Linked DNA regions of Homo sapiens: regions 1 and 2 are each linked to region 3. Evidence: promoter capture Hi-C in 16 types of primary human blood cells and fetal thymus (Javierre and others, 2016). All regions are on one chromosome and are shown on one strand. Each heading gives the region's core, a stretch centred on a gene start or on the middle of the fragment in contact. The rest is flanking DNA. Distances are from core to core; before and after follow the strand shown. Region 1 overlaps AP1S3 (adaptor related protein complex 1 subunit sigma 3). Region 2 overlaps SERPINE2 (serpin family E member 2). Region 3 holds the start of CUL3 (cullin 3).

Region 1 (3,695 bases), core at 596-3,095, 750 kb after region 3:
TTTTTTGAGACTGATCTCGCTCTGTCGCCCAGGCTGAAGTGCAGTGGTGTGGTCTCGGCTCTGCCTCCCGGGTTCAAGCGATTCTCCTGCCTCAGCCTCCCGAGTAACGGGGATTACAGGCGTGTGCCACCACACCCAGCTAATTTTTGTATTTTTAGTAGAGACGGGGTTTCACCATGTTGGCCAGGCTGGTCTCGAACTCCTGACCTCAGGTGATCCGCCTGCCTCGGCCTCCCAAAGTGTAGGGATTACAGGGGTGAGCCACTGCACCCGGCATGGTGTGCAGTTTGGCTGTGGTTGGAGAATGGACTGGGGTGTGTAAGGGCAGGGGATAGGGGGTCAGGTTGGAAGCTGAGGCCGGCCGCAGCCCTGCTGATGAGAGATCTGGTGACCTGCACTTGGGTGGAAGCGATAGCTCAGGCTCCTCTTGCTCTTGCCTGCTGTTTAGGGGCAGCCTTTTAAGAGTGTGGTGGTCTGAACGTCACTAGTCCCACTTCCCCAAGTGTGTTACCACTTCCCAAATCCGCAGAAGGGAAGTGACCTGCACCCTGTGGGCCCACCGGAGGCAGGAGTGGGTGGGCCACGTGGGCTAAGAAAGTTGATCAACAAAGAGAGCCGGGGAGTGCTGAGCACCTGGCCAGCAAGACCGCAGTTGCTGGTTTCTGTTAAAGGTTTGGCTGCACACACTAGCGGCATCATTTTTGTCTGTTGAGGGTTCCTTGTAAATACAGCGTGATGCAAAAACAATGCTGTAAATAATGGAGCAGGTTTCTTGGCTTGCTCAAGTTTCCCAAGGAACAAGGTGACAGATGCCCAGTCCACCAGTGTAATTTGCCTAACAGAGGCTGGAATAAGGCCCTGCGTTTCTGAGTCATCAAAGGCTGCTTTTGTGCTGAGGAATGGGCCAAGGTTTGGTCTATAAGGAAAAGCTGCTCCTCTGGACAATACCTGTGGTGGAGTTTTATTTTTTCTTGCTGGTGTCATATGTGTGATGAGTTGATCAGAAATGTGGGAAGTTTCTCCAGCTTTTCTACCAGTTTTTGCTAAATGGGAAACATTATTATTATTTTTTTTTCTTCGAGACGGAATCTTGCTCTGTCACCCAGGCTGAAGTGCAGTGGCATGATCTTGGCTCACTGCAACCTCCATCTCCCGAGTTCAAGCAATTCTCCTGCCTCAGCCTCCTAAGTAGCTGGGATTACAGGCGCCCGCCACCACGCCTAGCTAATTTTTGTATTTTTAGTAGAGACGGGGTTTTGCCATGTTGGCCAGGCTGGTCTCAAACTCCTGACCTCGTGATCCACCTGCATCGGCCTCCCAAAGTGCTGGCATTACAGGCATGAGCCACCGCACCTGGCGGGGAAACATTAATGTTATTGGGCATTTGTGATAAGACAAGCAGGATGTCCTGCTCTTTATATTCACGATCTCATTCAATCCTTGCAACAAACAATTGAGGTTAAATCTGTTATGCTCATTGCATTTTAGCTACTCTGAGCTATTCTAGCAGTATGGCCTTGGACAATTCCTTGACCTCTCTGTCTCAGTTTGCCCATTTGAAAAATGGAGATAATATCTCCTAACTCATAAGGCAGAGGTTCTGAAAGTGTGACCTGGGTACCCCCAGCAGTCCCCAAGACTTTTACTGGAGGTCTGCAAGGTCAAAACTATTTTCATAATAATACTAAGATATTAATTTTCCCATTTCATTCTCATTCTCACAAGACTACAGTGAAGTTTTCTTGTGTCTACATAAGCTGAGATAGTACAACAGATTGAACACAGATGCAGATAGGAAAGTCCAACTGTCTTTGATAAGCCCAGACATTAAGGAGATTTGCAAAATTGTAAAACAGTGCCATGCTTTTCACTAATTTTTTTTTTGCTTTGGAAAAATATTGTTATTGGTCATAAAAATGTTATTTATGTTTAATGTGTAATAGGTTTACTATTGTTTTTTCTTTTTATTTATTTATTTTTGAGACAGGGTCTCTGTGTCGCCCAAGCTGAGTGCAGTGGTGTGATCACAGCTCACAGCAGCCTCAACCTCCTAGGCTCCAGCAACCCTCCTACCTCAGCTTCTTGAGTAGCTGGGACTGTAGGCATGTCCCACCATGCCCAGCTATTTATTTATTTATTTATTTTGAGACAAGGCTTGTTCTATCACCCAGAGTAGAGTGCAGTAGCATGAACATGGCTTACTGCAGCCTCAACCCAGTGGACTCAAGGCATCCTCCTACCTCAGCCTTCCATGTAGCTGGGACCACAGGTGTGTGCCATCATGCCCAGGTAATTTTTTGATTTTTGTATAAATGAGGTCTTACTTTGTTGCCTAGGCTGGTCTTGAACTCCTGAACTCATGTAATATTCCCACCTTGTCCTCCCAAAGTGCTGAGATTATAGGCATGAACAATTGGGCCCAGTGGAATTTTTTACTTTTTGTAGAAATGAAGCCTACCTATGTTGCCCAAGTCGTATTATTTTAAAATATGTTAATATCTATTTTTTCATTTTAATTTCAAATACAATAAATATCAGTGGATATAACCCACATAAACAAAAAGGTCTTTGGGATTGGCAGGCGGATCACCTGAAGTCAGGAATTTGAGACCAGCCTGATCAACATGGAGAAACACTGTCTCTACTAAAAATACAAAATTAGCTGGGTGTGGTGGCGCATGCCTATAATCCCAGCTACTTGGGAGGCTGAGGCAGGAGAATCGCTTGAACCCGTGAGGTGGAGGTTGTGGTGAGCCAAGATCGTGCCATTGCACTCCAGCCTGGGCAACAAGAACAAAACTCCATCTCAAATAAATAAATAAATAAATAAATAAATAAATAAATAAATAAAAAGAGTGTAAAGGCATCCAAAAAGTTTCATAATCACTGTCCCGGAGTTTAACAGGTACCATAAGTGAATGCGTGTGAAGGCGCTTCAAACAGCTTTGCCATTGTAAATGCTCAGTAACCATCACCTCTCCTCTGTTATTACCTTCAAGTTGTAAGAAAGAATTGGCGGCCCTCGCTAGTGCCCAGCTGCTCTGAGACCTTTGTTGAGGCTCACTGTGTAACTCCCTGTCTTTCCTGCTGCTTCATTCCTGACTTTTGCTGACTTTTATGCTAGGAAACTGGTAGATGCTTACTGGCAGATCTAGGCACCTAGTACTTTACACACAGAAAATGGTTCTTGATTCCATGGTGCCAGTGACCCTGGTTTCTGGCACAGAGATTTCATATCTGGTGCATGTTGGGACTGTGTTTGTATCTGGATCACACTGTTTGAAGCAACTGTGTACTCCATCTCACCTTTTAGAAATCTCTACCTTGGAAAACAGTGTTAGGGCTATTGCACTTCAGGAATCCCACGAGCTGAGCCCAGTGTGTTTAAAAAGGCTTATGGGGCAGAATGTACTGTTGAATGGTTGGCAATGAAGGAGGATTATGTTGTTTATGTATGTATGTATGTATGTATGTATGTATGTATGTATGTATTTTGCCTTTAACAAGATAGCTGTGGGGATGTATACAGTGACATTTGAAATGCTTTGGGGGTACTTTTAATAAAAGCACAAGTGGACTTTGATGTATGTAGTCCATGTGCTTCTGAAAAGTTGAGGTGACACAAAACCACATTGTGAACAAAACAGTAGAGCCACCCATTGAAAGAAACTCAAATGTTGATCCCTTTGGAAACA
Region 2 (3,848 bases), core at 1,156-3,655, 590 kb after region 3:
GTGTAAAAGGCCTGAAGAGGACGCACATTCAGAGTGACAAATCGGCTCTTTAGAGGACCATCAAGGTGACTCTGGCAGGATGTTTTAGGACAGTGCCATTTTGAAGAGACCCCAAGCGATGAAGAAGGATCTGTAATTTGAGCTCTCTTTAGAAACACATTTCATCCTTATAACTTATTTGCCTCTTTTTCACCCTCTCAAACTAAATGGAGCATGTATGAATGGCTCATGTAAAATAAAGCTTACGTTGCCATAAAATTAATCTCCTTACTCTTTGAGCTTGTTACCAAGTAAAAACCACATTGTTCTGGATGGTGGCCCATGGTAATTTTTTATAGTCTTTCTAATGCTTATTTTATTCATTTTTTTTCCAAAATAGAAAAAAAGAAATTACATTGTTAAATCTTTGGCAAGAAAGGAAGTAGCACTTAATAACGTTAGACAAGAAAGAGAGAAAGCATTAGGAAGTTCCCTTTGATTTGTTCCCCCTTGGCTATAGAACTGAGGACTGTGCCAGCATTCATACTGACCTGGTGCCCAGAAAGGCTACCATGAGAATGAGGTCTGCATTGGGAAGGTGGTGAGAACACCTTGAATATTCCTGTTTTGATGCAGAAGCACAGTTGATTTTTGAGAGCTTCAGTGGTTAGACTTTAACCCCACTCCCTCCTTTTCTTAAGAAATAGGCCCCTGAGAGAACAGAAGACTTAGTTTCTTGCTACTCATAGCTATCCTGTTTATACTGTTCTGTTATTTTTATTTTTGAGACAGGGTCTTGCTTAGTCACCCAGGCTGTATGCAGGGGCCCGATCATGGCTTACTGCAGCCTCGACTTCCCAGGCTCCAGCGATCCTCCCACCTCAGCCTCCTCAAGTAGTTGGTATCACAGGCGTGCCACCACACCCAGTTAATTTTGTATTTTTGGTAGAGACAGGGTTTTGTCATATTACCCAGGTTGTTCTTAAACTCCTGAGCTCAAGCAATCCACCCACCTCAGCCTCTCAAATTGCTGGGATTACAGGTGTGAGCCACTGCACCTGGCCTATACTGTTCTTACTTGCTGCAACATAAAAGATTTTAAAAACTTTTCTAGATTCTTATGGAAGTATTGCTGTATCTTCTGATTTCTCTTTTAGGAGTTGGTAAAATATTAAAGAAGATCAACAAGGCCATCGTCTCCAAGAAGAATAAAGACATTGTGACAGTGGCTAACGCCGTGTTTGTTAAGAATGCCTCTGAAATTGAAGTGCCTTTTGTTACAAGGAACAAAGATGTGTTCCAGTGTGAGGTCCGGAATGTGAACTTTGAGGATCCAGCCTCTGCCTGTGATTCCATCAATGCATGGGTTAAAAATGAAACCAGGGGTGAGTGGCCGCAGTATGTCATTTGATTGCATAGTTTGTGAATGAAGCATGAGTTAGACTCCAGGGTTCAAAGTGGTGTCTGCAAGTCCAATTCAATGGCCTGTGGGTTGAGAAACTCCTGGACCAAGGAAGCTCTATTCAGTCTCCCTCCTTCCCCTTCAATCTGCCATTGCTCACTGTGCTCCTGGGAGGTGTTTCTCCTGTAGTTTGGGCAACAGAACAGAATCCAGCCCCTCCACTGTCTCCTCTCCTTGCCATATCTGGTCTCCAGCATCCTTGCCCACAGGCTCTTGTTGATTTTGAAGGTTTTCTTGCTCATTCCTTCCTGCTTTTGCATCTGCCTCTCCCTTTACCTGGAATGTCCTCCTCATCCTTCCAGGTTGATTGATCTCTTTGCCTTCCATGCCTCTTGCTTCTGCCATTGCCAAAGACATAGGTACCCTGTTGTCCGTTATGATTGGCACATGATTACAACTTTTACACCCCCCCGATTACAGCCCTTTCCACATCTCAAAATGATTACTCATTTGTAAGTGTCTCTTCTCCCATTAAATAAAGGAGAGTCTAACGTTGGTGTTTTAAAACTTAATTTGTAGGCCAGGTGCAGTGGCTCACACCTGTAATCCCAGCACTTTGGGAGGCCAAGGTGGGTGGATCACCTGAGGTCAGGAGTTCGAGACCAGCCTGGCCAACATGGTTTATCCCATCTCTACTAAAAATACAAAAATTAGCCAGACATGCTGGCGGGCACCTGTAATCCCAGCTACTTGGGAGGCTGAGGCAGGAGAATCGCTTGAACCTGGGAGGGGGAGATTGCAATGAGCCGAGATTGCAACCCTGCACTCCAGCCTGGGCAACAGAATGAGACTGTGTCTAAAACAACAACAACAAAAAGAAACAAAAAAACAAAAAAACCTTAATTTGTAACGTGGAGGTCCAGTTGGAAACATGCAGGAGGAGCTGTAGGTCTGGAACAACAGGAGAATGTGAAGGATGGGAGTACAGATTTGGGACCTTTTTTTTATTTTTAATTTTTTGGAGACAGGGTCTCACTCTGTCTCTTAGGCTAGAGCGCAGTGGTGCAATCATAGCTCACTGCAGCCTCAACCTCCTGGGCTCAAGTAATCCTCCCACCTCAGCCTTTCCGGTAGCTGGAACTACAGGTGTGCGCCACCATGCCTGGCTAATTTTTTTATTTTTTGAAGAGGTGGGGTCTCACTGTGTTGCCCATGCTGGTCTCGAACTCTTGGGTTCAAGCAGTCCTCTCGCCTCAGCCTCCCAGAGTGCTGGGATTATAGGCATGAGCCCCTGTGCCTGGCTATAGAGCCTTTTTTCATAGAAGGGAGAGAGTCAATAGGAAGAAGAAGCCCAAAGACAAAACCTAGGGAAACTGTCGCCTTTCAGGCTATGTTTCTTAAAAGTGTGGTTACTGGTGTCCCTGCATCAGAATTATCTGGGCTATGTGTTGAGAAGGCAGATCCCTGGAGCCCAGCCCACTGCATTGGAATCGCCGAGGGAGTGGCTGGCAACTCCCAGTCTGCCTCTGCCTCCCATCACCATTCTTACACACCCAGATGTTGGAGACCCATTAGCAGAACTAGTGAAGAGGTGGACAAAGAAGGCTCCAGGGAGGGTGGAGGAGACCCCAGGTGACTTGGGTAAATTCGTGGCGTCCCTTCTCAGTGGGGCCTGGACCATGCAGTCTGGGCGCCCTTCCTAAAACCATAAACCATCGGGAGGTCAGCACACATGAGGGTGTTCAGTGGAGTCTCCAGGTGTCTGGCATCTGTAGGCTTGTGAAGAGTGGTCAGAAGCAGACGCCCTCAGGACTGGTTCTTGGTCCTGACTCTGTGGCTGGAGGCTGTGTGACTGTGACATGTCATTTTGTCCTCTTAGCCGCTGCCTTGATCTGTAGAATGGCAATATTAAACCACATTAGTTAGACCATGTGACAGTCTTCAGAGCACCTGGAGAAAACCCCCACGTGTGCTGGGAAGAAGCATGGAGACTCCTGCAGCACTTTGCAGCCCTGTCAGCCCCAGCTCCTCCGTTTGTAACAAATATTTTTAATACTCTCTTTACTATTCTGAAATGAAATTCATACATCATATTACTCTATGCACACACACAAATTTTTAAAAATTTGAGACAGTGCCAAACTGTAATACAAAGGAAAACAAAAGAAATGTATATATGTAGTTCAATAGGTAAACCCTTGGGTACAACTACACTCAAATACGTAATAAAGTAGTCAGAGTCTCAGAATAATTGTGAATTGACAGCTACAAAAGCAGACAGAGACAGGCATGTTGTCCTGGTGACTCATAAACATGAGCTGTGTTAACTATTGCTGATGCAATTTTTTCTGAAACGGTGCAAGACTTTTGATAAATTTCTGAACAAAACAAAGCACAGGCTCTGCTTGATTTGCGTGGGACTCACATTCCTGGCAAATTCAGCATACATGAAAAGGATGCAAAAACA
Region 3 (3,498 bases), core at 955-3,454:
TTTATTAGTCTGAGAGATCCAAATGTCGGAGACTGGCTTAGTTTCAAAATATGACTCATTTTATAAAAGCATACAAGTGTTTTTTGTTGTTGTTGTTTAGAAACCTACCTATTGAATAAAGGAAGTAGTATAACCTTGGCTTTAATGCCCATGTTAATAACAGCCAACAGGTGGTAAGTTGCTGCTCCATGCCCAGTTCTCAGGGCTCTTTAAAACGTATTCATCTATTTAAATTTCACGGTAGCCCAAGGAGGAAGTATTGTTATTGTCTCCCTTTTACAGATGAGAAATTCTGGGGATTGTCAACTCCATGCCCCAAAAGATGCAAAACACAGCTAGTAAAGTGGCAGAATTGAGATTCAAACAATGGCTCCAAGAACACATATTCTTTTTTAAAATATTTTTTTATTTCTTTTTTTGGTTCCTCAGAGATCCCTATTCTGAACATATATTCTTACATTACAAAGAAACTGGGCCATATGAGAGTACAACCAAGAGAAAAACATTGTTTGTTATTATATTATGTTATGGAAATGGAGGTTCAATTAGCATAGAGATTATAAACTCCTATTCAAGGCTGACATTATCTTACATTGAAGTCAGAGCCTCTCCCAATCTTAGTTTATCAACTCAGTTCTTGATAACCTATTTTTAGCTTCAGTATTTACAGATATTGTCTTAAGCAACATTCTTGTTTCTTAAGCTCCTGCTTTAATTAGCCAATACCAAAAAACTCCCACAAAAAAAAAAAAAAAACAAGAAAATATGGTATTTGCAGTGGGGCGTTTTAAGCAAGAAGGGGCTTTAAGCACAACACTCATAAGCTTAGTCATCAGGATTAAGTTAATTTAGGGCAAATTCAACCTTACAGTCAACAAATAAGTGTATTTCACTTTATATTGTTTGCTATTTAAAAGTATTAAAATTCCAGCTTCTAAATGTAGATATCCATCCCCCAAACATATGCTTCTTTAAAATAGGAAGAACACAAACTTTAATAAGAACTCACGTATTCCCTTGCAGAGTCAGAAACCCAAACATAACAGCAATTGGGCAAGTAGGTAAATGAGGAAGTACAATTCATAACAAATGGACAGCAAAACCGATAAGTCAAATTAGACATTTTGACTATAAAGCGACCAAACGCCTCTCCTCCAAAACCAAAAGCCAAAACCTTTTCAAATATACAGCAACTGAATCAGACGGTAATTTTGGCTTTAAAAATCTACAATACTCTTGGTAATGGTAGAAATGATTTATCCGGTAGGTTAAAGATAGGTTTCTATCATTCCACTTAACATTATTTACCAAATGCTGCATTTCATTAATGGAGCTGTCAGTTTATTCTGATGGTAATGAAAAACAGGTTTTAACATGAATAAGCCCTGGGTCCACCAGAAAATATCAGTGAATCAAGAGGTCCCGAAGCTTATGCAGTTTAAGGGAACTTCGTAGATTAAATTTCCACCTTCCAGTCCTGAGAGCTGTGGTGTGCACACCCAGTCCGAATACCTTGTTGAGCATACAGGACACTAATTTCCGACACTGCAGCTAACTCCTGCACAAACTCTTCAAGTTGCAGGCTTCTACTCAAGTACCCATCCCTAGTCCACATGCCCTAGAAAAACACAGGAACCAGTTCGGGACGTAGTTACACATCTAGCACCCCACGCTCCTCCTCAAGACTATCCTCCTGCTGTCCCAGCCCAGTGGGGCCCAGCCCACTACCATCCCGCTCCCGCTCTCCGAACTTCCCCCCTCCCACTCCCCACCATGTGACCAGGACCCTCCCAACCGCCGCTCCGAGCTCCACCAATCAGCAACCACCTCCACCCAGAACCCGGGACCTGGCGCTCCACTTTCAAAAAGGCAGCTTAATCCTCCCGCCCTCAGCCACGCCCCCTTTCCGCTTCCCCGCCCCGCCGGCCCCTCCCACTTCCTTCAGTTCCCTGTTCCCCTCCTCCCCTCCGGTGGCGCCCACCCTCTCCCGGGCTTCGCCCCGCCCACCAGGGGGGCAGCGCGCTCGCCCTCTTCTCGCGAGATCTGAGCGTCCCCCGCGGCGGCCGCCGGGCTCCCCCTCCCGTCCTCCCACCTCCCTCCCCCGGCATCTCTCACTCTCCGGCTCTCCTCCCTCCCTCCTCCCCCCTCCACCCTCTGGGCCGGATCTCGTCTCGCTCAGGCGGAGGAGGAGAAGGAGGAGGAGGAGGACGACGTTCGGCCTGCGCAGTGAGATGTTTGTCCGTCGCCGCCGCCGCCGCCATCGCGGAGGAGCGCGATAAAGGGAGCCGAGCCGGACGTGAGGGGGACCCCGCGGAGCCGCCGCGCCAGCGCAGCCCCCCAGCCGCATCGGAGTCGCCAGAGTCCGAGCCGCCGCCGCCGCCGCCGCCGCCCCCGCCGCCGCCGCGGCTGCCCAGGGGCCGGCCAGCTCCCCAGCCCTGCCCGGGGGTCGCGCCGCCGCCGCCCCCAGCGTCGCCCCTAGCCTGCCTGCCCGCCTTAAATGTGACACCGGCGTCGCGGAGCGCGACCTGAAGCCGCCGCCGGGGAGGGGACGAGCACCATGTCGAATCTGAGCAAAGGCACGGGCAGCCGGAAGGACACCAAGATGCGGATCCGGGCCTTTCCGGTGAGTCTCTCCTCGGCGTCCGGGACCCCGGGGCCGGGGGCCGGGCCGAGAGCCGCACGCGAGGCCCGGGCTGAAGTCCCCCAACAGGCCGCAGGCCCGGCCTCCCCTCCCCCACGCCCGCCGGCCGCGGGGCGCGAGCCTTCCCGGCAACCGGGCGGCGCGGGGCCCCGGCGCGGCCGCCCTCCCGGGCCGTTCCCCGCGCCGGGAGCCCGGGCCTGGCGCCGCGCCCCCGTCCGGGAGCTGCTCCTTCAGCCGCTCCGCGGGCGTCGGCTGCGGCCGGGGCCCCTCGGCCGCCCCACGCCTCCCCACGTTGCCGGGGTTGTAGGCCCAGTCTCCGGCGCTGCTAGCAGCCGCGGAGTCCTCCCTGTGTGGGGCGTGTGTGGAACTTTTCACGTGGGGTTTCGCTACACTTTGAAAATTTACCCAGCCTAGCTTTTAGGGTGATGAAGGGGCTGCCCTCTCTCTCTGCCCCCCTCCCCAGGAAGGTCTATGCCATCAACCTGCCCCCGACGCAGTGACAGTGGTTCCACGGAATGCTCCGTGGTCATAAACTAGTAACATTGGGTGTATTTATAGCGTCTTTCATCCTACAAGCTTCCTAAGCACTTTACAAACTCTTGTGCAGGATTGCCTCGCCACTCGGAGGAAGGCCGGGTGGGGGGGAAGCAACAGAGAGCAAACCGGCCAATTGGTTCTCCATTTCTCAGCCTTGGGAGCCCAAAGAATGAGTGTAGTCGCCTTGCGGAGTAGCTTTGTTTCATCGCTTTCAGTGACAGCAAACGTGTTCTGCTCAGAAACTTTTTCTTTTTTGGCATTACGTTGAGTCGTACCCTTGCGATGTTTAGTATATAGGATATAACTTTGGGTGTCAAATC

What was found. The method cuts DNA at HindIII sites, captures the fragments that hold promoters and counts their contacts. A CHiCAGO score of 5 or more calls a contact.
Region 1: a fragment that was not itself captured here is called in contact with the fragment with the promoter of CUL3 in region 3 in 4 of 17 cell types (naive B cells, total B cells, monocytes and 1 more); the score reaches 8.7 in naive B cells.
Region 2: a contact is called between a fragment that was not itself captured here and the fragment with the promoter of CUL3 in region 3, in 1 of 17 cell types (erythroblasts). The highest score is 8.2, in erythroblasts.

What each region holds. Positions count from the first base shown.
Region 1 is chr2:223,833,039-223,836,733 of GRCh38, reverse strand. All of the region lies in intron 1 of AP1S3 (adaptor related protein complex 1 subunit sigma 3), which reads left to right. Among named protein-coding and RNA genes, the nearest start is that of AP1S3, 2.7 kb to the left of the region's middle. The HindIII fragment of the contact is 4,436 bases long and covers 1-3,695 here.
Region 2 is chr2:223,995,631-223,999,478 of GRCh38, reverse strand. SERPINE2 (serpin family E member 2) reads left to right here. Exons shown (of 9, transcript NM_001136528.2): 3 at 1,137-1,364. Among named protein-coding and RNA genes, the nearest start is that of MRPL44, 40 kb to the right of the region's middle. The HindIII fragment of the contact is 4,324 bases long and covers 244-3,848 here.
Region 3 is chr2:224,584,069-224,587,566 of GRCh38, reverse strand. CUL3 (cullin 3) reads left to right here and starts at 2,204. Exons shown (of 16, transcript NM_003590.5): 1 at 2,204-2,623. The coding sequence starts at 2,558. RefSeq lists silencers at 1,731-2,150, 2,481-2,740. The HindIII fragment of the contact is 1,789 bases long and covers 1,431-3,219 here.